3 separate regions of the Homo sapiens genome follow, and all the other regions are linked to region 3. The links are contacts of gene promoters, found by promoter capture Hi-C in human tissues and cell types (Jung and others, 2019). All regions are on one chromosome and are shown on one strand. Each heading gives the region's core, a stretch centred on a gene start or on the middle of the fragment in contact. The rest is flanking DNA. Distances are from core to core; before and after follow the strand shown. Region 1 has its middle 7.1 kb from the start of CRTC1. Region 2 overlaps KLHL26 (kelch like family member 26). Region 3 holds the start of NR2C2AP (nuclear receptor 2C2 associated protein).

Region 1 (3,612 bases), core at 157-2,656, 530 kb before region 3:
CCTGGGCACTCAGCCACAGCTGCCCCTAGAAAACAGATGGCCCTGCCCCGATGCTGTTTCTCTGTAGCACTTGTGCCTGCATGGAAACATCCCGGAGGCCCAACCAGTATCCCACGCCATTCCCCAGCTGTCCCAGGAGTGGTGAAAGTGAGTACATTCGTGTGTATTAGTCAGCCACTGCTGTGCAACAAACACCCCCAAGTCTCAATGGCATGCAACAATAAGCGTTTGTTTTTCACATGTCTGTGAGTCAGCAGAGGTGGTGTCTGCTCTAGGCGGGCCTCGGCTGGGCAGCTCTGCTTACAGGTGCAAGGATGCAGAGTAGCCCAGAGTCCCTGCTCCACGGGTTCTTGCCTCCTGCTGGAACAGCAGCTAGCCAGGGCACATTTTCCTCCTGCAAGTGTCTGAGGACAAGTGGAATCACGTGAGGCCTCGTAGGGTCTCAGTTCGGGACTCAAACACTATCACATCTGCCCGTAAGTCTTTTTTTTTTTTATTTTGAGATGGAGTCTTGCTCTGTTGCCCAGGCTGGAGTGCAGTGGCACAATCATGGTTCACTGCAGCCTCGACCTCCTGGGCTCAAGTGATACTCCCACCTTAGCCTCCTGACTAGCTAGAACTATACGCTCATGCCACCAAGAGCAGCTTATTCATTTATTTATTTATTTGAGACTGAATCTCGCTCTGTCACCCAGGCTGGAGTGCAGTGGTGCAATCTCGGCTCACAGCAACCTCCACCTCCCAAGATCAAGCGATTCTCTTGCCTCAGCCTCTCGAGTAGCTGGGATTACAGGTATGTGCCACCACACCTGGCTAAGTTTTGTATTTTTAATAGAGACGGGGTTTCGCTTTGTTGGCCAGGCTGGTCTCGAACTCCTGGCCTCAAGTCAACCACCTGCCCTGGCCTCCCAAAGTGCTGGGATTACAGGCATGAGCCACTATGCCTGACCTGCCCATAAGTCTTTGGCCAAGCAAATGACATGGCTGAGCCCCACATCTGGAATGGGGAAGTGTCTTCCACCTGGAAGGAAGAACTGTAGAGGGCAGGGATGCAGGAATAGGTGGGAACCGCGGCCAATAGTTCGATGGGTCACCCTTGGCTTGGGGGCCTCTCTTGTTAGCAGGGTGACCAACTTCCCTCTGTGGGGGGACTCCCCAAACTTGGATGGGGACCCTGATGCTGGCAACCAAAAAGAAAGGCCCGTTCTGCATCTCCTTAGCAGCCACTGCCCCCTGGAGGTCGAGATATCCCTCTTTTTTGTTTGTTTGTTTCAGGTGAGTGGGGGCTGTGAGTGCCCCAGGATCTTGGAAAGCAGGATGGGGGTCTGGATGTAGGGAGGTCAATGGGGCCTTGGCCAAGTTTCAGGGCATGGACACTGTAGGTGTCCCTGGGAGCATGCCCAAGTCTCTCTATGTTGCCCAGGCTGGTTTCAAACTCCTGAGCTCAAGCAGTCCTCCTGCCTCTGCCTCCCAAAGTGCTGAGAATATAGGCACAAGCCAATGCATCCAGCCAACCAACCAGTTTTCCAACACGCACTTCAGCTATCTATCCCTCAGCACAAGTGGCTGGGTCCCTAGACTTGAACCATGGGTCCCCCGCCTGCCCAGTTCCAGCCTCTCACTACCCTCCTTGGCGGCCCACCCCGTCCCACCCTCCATCCACCACTAAAGCCTGGGTGGGAGGACGAGGGGCCTGGGTCCTCCTGTAACCTTATCGTAAGGAGGGGCATCGCTGGCTTCTCTTGGGTCCTTTCCCTCTCTCTTCATGATCAGACCCAGCTTTTGCTTTGCCCTTTAAAAACTCTGTACGATGAGAGCCTCTTTTGGAAGTCAAAGACAGACCAGGGATTGTTTTCCTCTTTGCCTCTCAGCTCCAATGGCCCTAATTCACCTCCACACGACGTGGGTACCCCAAATCGACTAAGATCCCATATAAGGAAGAGCTGAGAAGCAAAGCATGAAAACTAACATGGCGAAGTAGCGTTTTGCTTTCCTAACAGTTGCTGAGTGCTTGGATGAAGCAGGCACTGAGCTAAGTGCTTTCCATGTGTTATCTGTTTCATCTTTCCAAGAGCCTGCTATGAGGAGCACCACTGTCCACATTTAGCAGAGGAGGGCAGTGCGGCTCAGAGAGGTGAAGACAGTTTTCCATTGTCACACAGCTTGACAACTGATAAGTGTTGGACCACACAGAAATGCTCAAGAGTTTCTTGATCTCCCGGGTCAAGCAATTCTCCTTCCTCAGCCTCCCAGGTAGCTGGGTTTACAGGCGTGCACCACCACGCCTAGTTAATGTTTTTTTTGCATTTTTAGTAGAGACGGTGTTTCACCATGTTGGCCAGGCTGGTCTCAAACTCCTGACCTCAGGTGATCCGCCCACCTCAGTCCCCCAAAGTGCTGACATTACAGGTGTGGAGGTGGAGGTTGCAGTGAGCCGAGTTCGCGCCACTGCACTCCAGCCTGGGTGACAGAGCAAGACTCTGTCTTAAAAACGCACAAACGAATGAACAAAAACACATAAGAAATCACGTGTGTCTGTGCCCTTTCCACATTCCACAGGCACACAGGGAACTCTGGCCTGGCCCTGGCCTCTTTGGGAAAGGCGAACATAATCTCAGCTCAATCTACAAGGGATCAGATGAGACCGCACAAACAGCTGCCTTCAGAGAATGGGATGTTTCTGGGTCATGGGAAGAGACGCTGGAGGTCCACTTCAGCTAGACCCTTCAGGAGGGTCTCTCAGAGCAGAGGCCTGCAAGTCGAGAAGGAGCCAGCCACGAAAGCATCTTGGAGGAGCGCAATCCAGGCAGAGGGAACAGCGAAGAGGCCCGTGTGGCTGGAGCGAGAGCCGAGCCGAGCATAAGCATGTGGAGCCGCCAGGAGGAGGGTATTTTTTTTTTATTTGAGATGGAGTCTCACTCTGTCTCCCAGGCTGGAGTGCAATGGTGCGATCTCGGCTCACTGCAACCTCCACCTCCCGGGTTCAAGCGATTCTCCTGCCTCAGCCTCCCGAGTAGCTGGGATTACAGGCACCCACCATCATGCCTAGCTAATTTTCATTTTTTTTTTTTTTTAAGAGACGGGGTTTCACCATGTTGGCCAGGCTGGTCTTGAACTCCTGACCTCAGGTGACCCACCTGCCTCTGCCTCCCAAAGTGCTGGGATTACAGGCATGAGCCACTGCGCCAAGCCTTTAGATTTTTTTTTTTTTTAAGTGCGATGGGAGTGTGGGATCTGCCCTGCTTTGCAAAGCCCGCAGGGCTGCTGTGAGGAGCAGTGTTGGACCACACTGGGTGACAGCAAGTTCCTTTGATGAAGGAAGAAAGTGAAAACCTCAGGGTTGGTTTCTGCCCGGGTCACTGGACACTGAAGCCTCGCCCTTCTCAGGGCTGGGGGTCAGTGGAGCAAGAAGCGGGGCTTGGGCTGCTGTCTGGCCATTGCACAATGAGCGGGCTGGCTGCTTCCTCTGACTCATCACCAGGGTTTAGGATGGATCAAGTTTCATGCCAGGCGGGCCGCGGGGTGAATGGGGGTGAGTAGGAAGAGCAGCAGACTTACTTCTGCACATGCCCAGGATGGCTCCTTGCTGTAACCCCTGCTAGTCCCCAAAAT
Region 2 (4,046 bases), core at 1,455-3,954, 560 kb before region 3:
AAAAGCTTATTGCTCTCTGAGGCTTGCAGTCTGGCAGGTAGGAATTCCCTTCTATGGGATCAGGTCGATCTTTTGCCTTTCCAGTGAGGCTTGTGGGGCTGCTGGGGGGCAGTGGGGGCTGGCCTTAGTCTCTAGCTGCCTTTCTAGCCTGCCAGGCAACGCCCGCATCTGCCTTTTTGTCCCACGAAGGTTTTGTCTTTTGGCCAGGGGCGGGGGCAGTTCCTGTCTTCCCCCTGGCCCTTCCAGCGGTACCACAACTCAAGAAACTGTCCCCAGGAGGGACTGCGCTCCCCCACCCCCGACCGCCCCCAACGTTATATAACTTGTTTGTTCCAACTTCTGTCTTCTGCAACCGAGGGGGAAAAAAGAAAGAGAAAAGCTTATTCTCCTTCCTTCCTATCTCGAGGGATCAACAAAAAACCCGTTGCCTAGTAGAGGTGGTCATTAATGACTGAGCCGAACCTCAGGGATGGACAGAGTGGGGCTGCCCTGGCTGGGGTGTGCGGAGAGGAGGTGGGGTCCTTGCTGCAAGCACAAAGGACACTTGTTCACCAGCTGGCCTCCTCCCAGCTCGGGCCGCGGGGTCTAGACTCCTTGGAGGGAAAGGAGGCTTGGGCCACTTGGGGTGTCGCAAGGGGAGGCAAACCCTCTGGGGAGTCGCACCTCCCCAGCTAAAATTCTGTCACTGTGAGGTACCTGACCGGCAGAGTTTTGGAGGAACCTTCTGGCCTTGCAGCCTCTCCGACATGGGCCTTTGGCATCCACGCTTTTTGGCCCACGCTCCCTGGAGACGCCTGGGTAGGGCCCAGGCTCACTGAGTCATGCTGTTCCTGGGGGTGAGGTGGGGGGATCTGGGTGAGGGATGTGCCAGCTTCAGGCATTTGCATAAGAAGTGGTGGCTAGGCTGGGTGCTTTGGCTCACTCCTGTAATCCCAGCACTTTGGGAGCCCAAGGCAGGCAGATTACAAGGTCCAGAGTTTGAGACCAGCCTGGCCAACATAGTGAAACCCCCTCTCTACTAAAAATACAAAAATTAGTCAGGTGTGGTGGTGGGCGTCTTTAATCCCAGCAACTCTGGAGGTTGAGGCAGGAGAATCGCTTGAACCTGGGAGGAGGAGGTTGCAATGAGCCGAGATCCTGCCACTGCACTCCAGCCTGAGCGACAGAGTGAGACTCTGTATCAAAAAAAAAAAAAAAAGAAGTGATGGCTGGGACGTTGTGCCCAGGGGCTTTGCTGCCTGCTGAAAGTGTTTGCATGGAAAGTTGTGGCCGAGACGCTGCGCCCGGTGGGTTTGTCACAGTCAGTCTGGCTGGGTGGCCTTTGCCTGTTGAAGCTTTCTCCACAATCTAGATCATCTCCACCAAGCCCAGAGGCCTTGGAAGGGTCCAGCCCCCCAGCTCCTGCTAGGAAGACTTAGGGGAAGAGGTGGCTTCCCAAGGAGGTTCTTGCTACTTTGGGGAAGTTCTCATTCCTTTGGCCTCTTGCCCCTTTCTTTTTTATTATTATTAATTTTTTTTGACGTCACTCTGAGCTCAGGCTGGAGTGCAGTGGCATGATTTTGGCTCACTGCAACCTCCGCCTTCTGGGTTCAAGTGATTCTCCTGCCTCAGCCTCCCAAGTAGCTGGGACTACAGGCGCCCACTACCATGCCTGGCTAGTTTTTGTATTTTTAGGAGAGATGGGGTTTCATCATGTTGGCCAGGCTGGTCTCGAACTCCTGACCTCAGGTGATCCACCTGCCTTGGCCTCCCAAAGTGCTGGGATTACAGGCATGAGCCAGTGCGCCCGGCCTCATGCCCCTTTCAGAAGGAGGATTTTGACCCTTCCAAGACGTGGACTCAAGTCCTTCTCCTGGAAAATGTGGTCAGATATGGCGGCATGAGGTGTCTCATCATACCCATGGGTGACTGTGGCTCCCTCTTTATGGGTTGTGGCTGTGACAGATTCCTCATCTGGGAAATGGGGCTCCAGGCCCACCAGGTGGGGGGTGTCTGGGAGGAAACGAGTGGGGAGAGGTCACATGTACCTCATCAGTGTTACTGTGGCAGTGCTGACGCCCATGATGGGGACACTGCCATCCTTCTGCCCGCCATGCCCGCATGGGCCTTGAGGGGATCGTCAATGCCAGCAAGCCTTGATGTGGCGTGCGTGTGTCAGGCAGGGAAAGGAGAGGGTGAACTTGAGCCATTGGGAAGACAGTAGTGCCATGACTTGGGCCGTAAGAGGGACAGCAGCAGGGGCAGCGAGAGAGTAGAGCACGTCCAGCGTGAGCTGGAGAGGGCAGGTTCCGCCAGGAGTAGGCCTGGGAGCAGGAGCTCGGCAGGGCGGGGGCAGGGGCGGCGGGGGGTGGCGCGTCTCAGCAGGGATGGGGGCAGGTGGAACTGGGCCAGCCCAAGAAGGGCACTGGCCCACAGGCCGAGCCACATCCAGGCCACTCGATCTGCCCCTCACAGCTGAGCCCCTTCTCTGGGAAGGAGGCCACCCTCTCCTCCCCTCCTTGTCGGCAGGTCCCAAGAGCTCTGGGAGTGGAATTGCTCTGAAAGCACTCACTTCAACCTGAATCGTGCAGTGCGATCGTCACAGCTGGACTGTTTCCACCTGGTAGCTGTGACCCCCGGGACGGCCTCCTTGTCGTTGTCCGTAGTTACCGGGGAAGAAAGGCTTTATTACCCTCCGCCATAATCGCACCATCTCCAGGGAGCCCCTGCGAATGTCATCCCACCTCCCCCACGGCGATTACTTTTTATCTCACCCACCTCTCCTCAGACACTGTAAAAGGGAGGCTTTCTCCTCACTCCAGCCCTTTGGTTTTTTCCTTTTTCTGATATTTGTGTGTGTGTGTGTGTCTTACCCTTTGGTTTTAGGGAATGTTTTAGATTTGGTGTTAAGAGGCCCTGGAGGAGGAAGAGAGGAGGAGGAGGAAGAGTGGAGGAAGAGGAGGAGGAGATGAGAGGGAGGAGGAGGAAGAGGAGGAGGAGAAAAAGAGGAGGAAGAGGAGGAGGAAGAGAGGAGGAGGAGGAAAGAGAGAGGAGGAGAAAAAGAACAGGAGAATGGGGAGGGAGAGAGGAGGATGAGGGGGAAGGACACAGATAGAAATAATTCAGCGACTTGGGGCCTTGGATCCTGGAAGAAGGGGGTGGGATCTACTGAAGGCAAGGGGTGACTGGGCAGCATGTGTCCCGGCATCCCCAGCTCTTTGCTCTGTGGACAGGATTTGTTAGACACATTTCTCTGCCTTTGTGCAGGTGCCACAGTCTCCTGTGTCCACCCCATGCCTGGTGCTGGACATGAAGGGTCCATGGGACAGATGGACCCTGCCCATGGGGCGCATACATGCCAGCAGGAGTTAGAGAACGTCGTGCGGTCATTTCCGGGCTGGCTGGGCCAGGGGGCCAGGGCAGGGTTTGGGTGAGCGGCATATCAGTCAGCCTCCTGTTTTGAAAGGATCCCTCTGTAGGCCGGGTGTGGTGGCTCACACCTGTATTCCCAGCACATTGGGAGGCCAAGGCGGGTAGATCACTTGAGGTCAGGAGTTCGAGACCAGCCTGGGCAACATAGTGAGATCCAGTCTCTACTAAAAATACACAAAACTAGCTGGGCGCAGTGGCGGGTGCTTGTAGTCCCAGCTGCTCTGGAGGCTGAGGCACGAGAGTCGATTGAACCCAGGAGCCGAGATTGCACCACTGCACTCCAGCCTGGGCGACAAAGTGAGACTCTGTCTCAAAAAAGAAAGGATCCCTCTGGCAAGAGACAAGGGACCCTCGGCCAAGGTGGGCCCTGGAGGGATGGAGAGGCACACGCAGGCTTGGGGATGCCTGGAGGTTGAGCTTGTGCTGACTGATAGTGGTGGCCAGTTTCTGCCCTCCCCACCGGGCAGGCTGAAGGTCAGGGTTGTCCTTGGTCCCGCGCGGCTGCACTGCCTGCAACAAGCAGCAGACTTGGAGGCGCCACCTGGCCTAGGGGATTCGCAGCCCTTCCTGTGTTCCAGAAAAGCCCTTCATGCCTCTCCTTGCTCAGGGTTCGTGCCACTTGGAGCTCCCACAGT
Region 3 (3,987 bases), core at 460-2,959:
GCTGACCCTGAGTGAAGGCCGCCTGCCGGGGACTCAGACACTCAGGGAACAAAATGGTCAGCCAGAGCTGGGGAAACCCAGAACTGACTTCAAAGGCAGCTTCTGGACAGGTGGTGGGAGGGGACCCTTCCCAAGAGGAACCAATAAACCTTCTGTGCAGAATGAGGGACTTTGCTGTGCTTCCCGGAGGGCTTCCTGGAGGAGACAGCCCCTAGAGGTCTCACACCTTCTCCCCAAGCACCCGCAGGTGGTAGATGACCACACGGCCAAAAAAGTCAGTGGCATCCTCAAACGTCACCTTCAGCCGGTCCACTTCAGCAGCTGGTATGGGGAAAGTGTGAGCGTGGGCAGTCAAGGGAAACTGGTGATTTCTGGTTTCCCACCCGCAGGCCCCCACCCCTTCCAGACCCAGCTCACACTCCACCGATGTGGGCAACCTGGGGAAGCTGCAGGTCCCTCTAAGCCTCTCACACAGAACAGGTGGTCATCAGCACCATTTTACAGAAAAAGTGGAGTCCTAGAGGTCACGTGTTCAAGATCACACATCAGGGTTCCCATTCGGGTTTGGGTGAGTCCAAAGCTTCCAGAGGCACAGACCACCCACCCCAGAAGCAGGGGCAGGATATCTGAAGCGAGTTGTTGTCCTCAGGGTAGAAATCTACAATCTTGTGGAGAGCCTGAGTGCCCTGTGAACCTTCAGCAGAGAAAGGCAATGAGTGTCTGGGGTGACCCCTGGAACCCCTGCCACCCAGGGCCTTCTAGTACCTTCCAGGCAGCCCCGGCGACTGGAGAAGCCACCCTGAAACTGGATCTGCAGCTGGGAGACACGGATGAGCTGGGGAAACTCCAGCGTCACCCACTGGGAGGGGCCCTGGAAGCAGACAGGGAAACTGAGGCGCAAGCTCACTGCAGGCACAGAGCCCTGCTATGCCTGTCTCATTCACATAGTTCTTGGAATGGAGGGGAAGAAGGAAATTCGGCACATGTTCCTTTCCTGGCCACCCATGAGGGCCCCCTGACGTTCTCAAGGCATGAGATCTGAATCTGAATCACCCTAGAGATGGAGGGTCGAGGGAGGCGCCTCACCTGGTCTGAGTTCCAACATGTCTCCTCATCCTGGTCGAAAAGATGTTTTTTTCCAAACTGCCGAGTGTTGCGATTCAGCACTGAACTCACCCTGGAGGCACCAGGATCAAGGCGAAGAGAGGGGCTGAGACCAGCTCTCAGCTCCGCGGAGGGCCTGACCCCCAGATCTGTCCACTGAGGGCTCGACCCCAGGCTTAGGGCCTCGCCACTGCCTGTCCCCACAGACTCTTACCTGCTCACTGTCTCTGGACAAACCAAAGAGTGGGTCATGTCGGTTCCACAAGACCTCGCAGGGCTTAGGATTGGGCACAGCCTTGGTTCGAATCCCGGCGCCTCCTCAAGCTACAGGGCGGCGCGATCTTGGCTACGCCTTGGCCTGAACGTCCTCACCTGTAACTTGGGACGAGAACCGCCACTCCCTCGCCCACCCCAGTCCTAAATGTCGCCTCGATCAATCCCCTGCCGGAAAATTTGGGAGAGAGGATCAGGGAAACCGCCAATGCCCGGAGGCCAGGCCTTTCACAGGAAACAGATTTCCCGCGGGTTTCGGGGGCGGTGGCTTTTTGTGCGAGGCTGTTTCTCTGCGAATAGCTCTTGGAGCCAAATCTTGGGACCCGGAACCGCGTGGGCTTGGCGCATGCGTGTTGTAATTCAGGCGCCGACCGCGGACGCTCCAGAGGTGGGGTTTGGTTCGACCCCGCCCCTTCATGCTCGCTTCTTAAAGGGCCCGGGTTCGATGATTGAATTTACCTTGGTTCCCTTGAAGCTGTAGGGAAAAGGCTGGCTGCGCGCACGGGGCGCTGTCCCTCGGCGCCCGAAGGTGTAGAGCACTGATTTTGACTGATTTTGGAATCCGAAAGACTTCCTTTTTTTTTTTTTTTTTTTGAGGCGGAGTCTCACTGTCGCCCAGGCTGGAGTGCAGTGGCACGATCTCCGCTCACTGCAAGCTCCGCCCCCTGGGTTCACGCCGTTCTCCTGCCTCAGCCTCCCAAGTAGCTGGGAATACAGGCGCCCGCCACCACGCCCGGCTAATTTTTCGTATATTTAGTAGAGACGGGGTTTCACCGTGTTAGCCAGAATGGTCTTGATCTCCTGACCTCGTGATCCAGCCGCCGGGGCTTCCAAAGTGCTGGGATTACAGGCTTGAGCCACCGCGCCCGGCCTTTTTTTTTTTTTTTTTTTGAAGTGGGGTCTCACTGTCACCCAGGCTGGAGTACAATGGTGGGATCGCGGCTCTCTGCGACCTCTGCCTCCCAGGCTCCAGCAATCCTCCTACCCAGCTTCCCGAATAGTTGGAACTAGTAGGCGCGCGCCACCACGGCAGGCTATTTTGTTTGTTTGTTTGTTTGTTTGTTTTTTGGTAGAGATGAGGTTTCGCCATGTTGCCCAGATTGGTCTCGAACTCCTGGGCTCAAGTGATCCGCCCACCTCAGCCTCCCAAAGTGCTGGGATTACAGGCGTAAGCCACCGCGCCCGGCCAGAGAGACTTCCTATGACAATGTCTTTCTTCCTACTCTAACCTACTCTACCCTAACGGCTACCCTAACCTACTCTAACCTACTCTACCCTAACCACTAAATGCAGCCTGGGAATCCCCGAACTTCACTGCCTCCCGGAGGCCAAAGGCAGAGTTGTGGAAAAGGCCACGATGTTGGGAGTATCTGAAGTCCTCATCAACCCTTTTTGTTCTTGTTGGGACAGAGGAGCCCTGGCCTCCAAGTTTGTCTTTCCCAGAAAATGCTGCTGGGACGTCAAGGAAGGCTTCTTGGAGGAGGGAGCATGCGAGGTCGGGTGTTTTTTGTTGTTTCTGTTTTGTTTTGTTTCGAGACGGAGCCTCACTTTGTTGCCCAGGCTGGAGTGCAGTGGTGTGATCTCAGCTCACTGCAACCTCCGCCTCCCAGGTTCAAGTGATTCCCCTGCCTCAGCCTCCTGAGTAGCTGTGACTACAGGTGCGCACCACTATGCCTGGCTAATTTTTGTATTTTTAGTAGAGATGGGGTTTCGCTATCTTGGCCAGGCTGGTCTCGAACTCCTAACCTCGTGATCTGCCCGCCTTGGCCTCCCAAAGTGCTGGGATTACAGGTGTGAGCCACCGCACCCAGGCTGTGAGGTGGGTTTTGAAGCATGAACAGGAGTTTGCCAAACAAAGCCTCAGATACCAAGCTGAAGATTTGGTTCACTGATTCACTAGACACCTCCTGCAAGCTCTACTGTCACACTGTCATGTCCAGCCTTCTGCTGGATGATGCTGGGGACAGCAAGAGGCCTCAGCTCCAGGCCTGTCCCAGAGGAGCCCCTGATCTGGGCAAGACAGAGGTAGACATAGACACTCCTAGCCCCAAGGGAGAGATGGGGCCGGAGGAGCAGGGGCTCTACCTGGAGGAAGGGCTTCCTGGGAAAGGGGATGTTAGAACTGCACCTTAATAGGGGGTCAGGCGCCAGGAATTCACAAGGGTGAGAAAATCTGGAGTGGGGAGGGTGTCCCAGGCAGGGAGCTTAGCATAAGCCAAGGCCTAGTTGGGTGAAAGACCATGAATTTGAATAAAATATGTGGAGCCACATCCTGCTGGGCCCGGAGCAGTCATGGAAGGTGTTGGAGAAAGGGCAGGACACCATCCGTTCTGCATGAATGGAGGGTTCCAAGACAGAGCAGCCACTGGCAAGAGGCTGTTGTTCCTGGCTTTAGCTGAATGGTCTGGCAGCCAGCCCCTTTCTTCAAGGGCTGGAGGAATGGTCCTTCCGGCATCCTACTAGTGTCTGCTCAAACCCACCCCAGGCAGCAGGGGTGGGGGCTGGCGGGGAAACTGGGTCACCAGCAGAAGGCCTGTCTCTTCAGCCCCTGCCTGCCAGGGCTTTCCGCATTTAGACAGAGTCTGGTGCCATCCAAACCCAACTTCGCTG

What was found. The method cuts DNA at HindIII sites, captures the fragments that hold promoters and counts their contacts. A contact is called where the count stands out against the background at its distance.
Region 1: a fragment that was not itself captured here is called in contact with the fragment with the promoter of NR2C2AP in region 3 in 1 of the 25 tissues and cell types used here (dorsolateral prefrontal cortex).
Region 2: a contact is called between a fragment that was not itself captured here and the fragment with the promoter of NR2C2AP in region 3, in 1 of the 25 tissues and cell types used here (dorsolateral prefrontal cortex).

Annotation. Positions count from the first base shown.
Region 1 is chr19:18,674,729-18,678,340 of GRCh38, forward strand. No RefSeq gene overlaps it. Among named protein-coding and RNA genes, the nearest start is that of CRTC1, 7.1 kb to the right of the region's middle. The HindIII fragment of the contact is 8,005 bases long and covers 1-3,612 here.
Region 2 is chr19:18,644,630-18,648,675 of GRCh38, forward strand. The region is part of intron 1 of KLHL26 (kelch like family member 26); the gene reads left to right. Among named protein-coding and RNA genes, the nearest start is that of KLHL26, 9.6 kb to the left of the region's middle. RefSeq lists an enhancer at 3,465-4,046. The HindIII fragment of the contact is 9,166 bases long and covers 1-4,046 here.
Region 3 is chr19:19,201,705-19,205,691 of GRCh38, forward strand. NR2C2AP (nuclear receptor 2C2 associated protein) reads right to left here and starts at 1,710. Exons shown (of 5, transcript NM_176880.6): 1 at 1,319-1,710; 2 at 1,087-1,177; 3 at 766-871; 4 at 627-694; 5 at 1-337. The coding sequence starts at 1,356. The coding sequence ends at 221. RFXANK (regulatory factor X associated ankyrin containing protein) reads left to right here. Exons shown (of 10, transcript NM_003721.4): 10 at 1-162. The coding sequence ends at 15. RefSeq lists a silencer at 686-952 and an enhancer at 1,616-1,910. The HindIII fragment of the contact is 14,823 bases long and covers 1-3,987 here.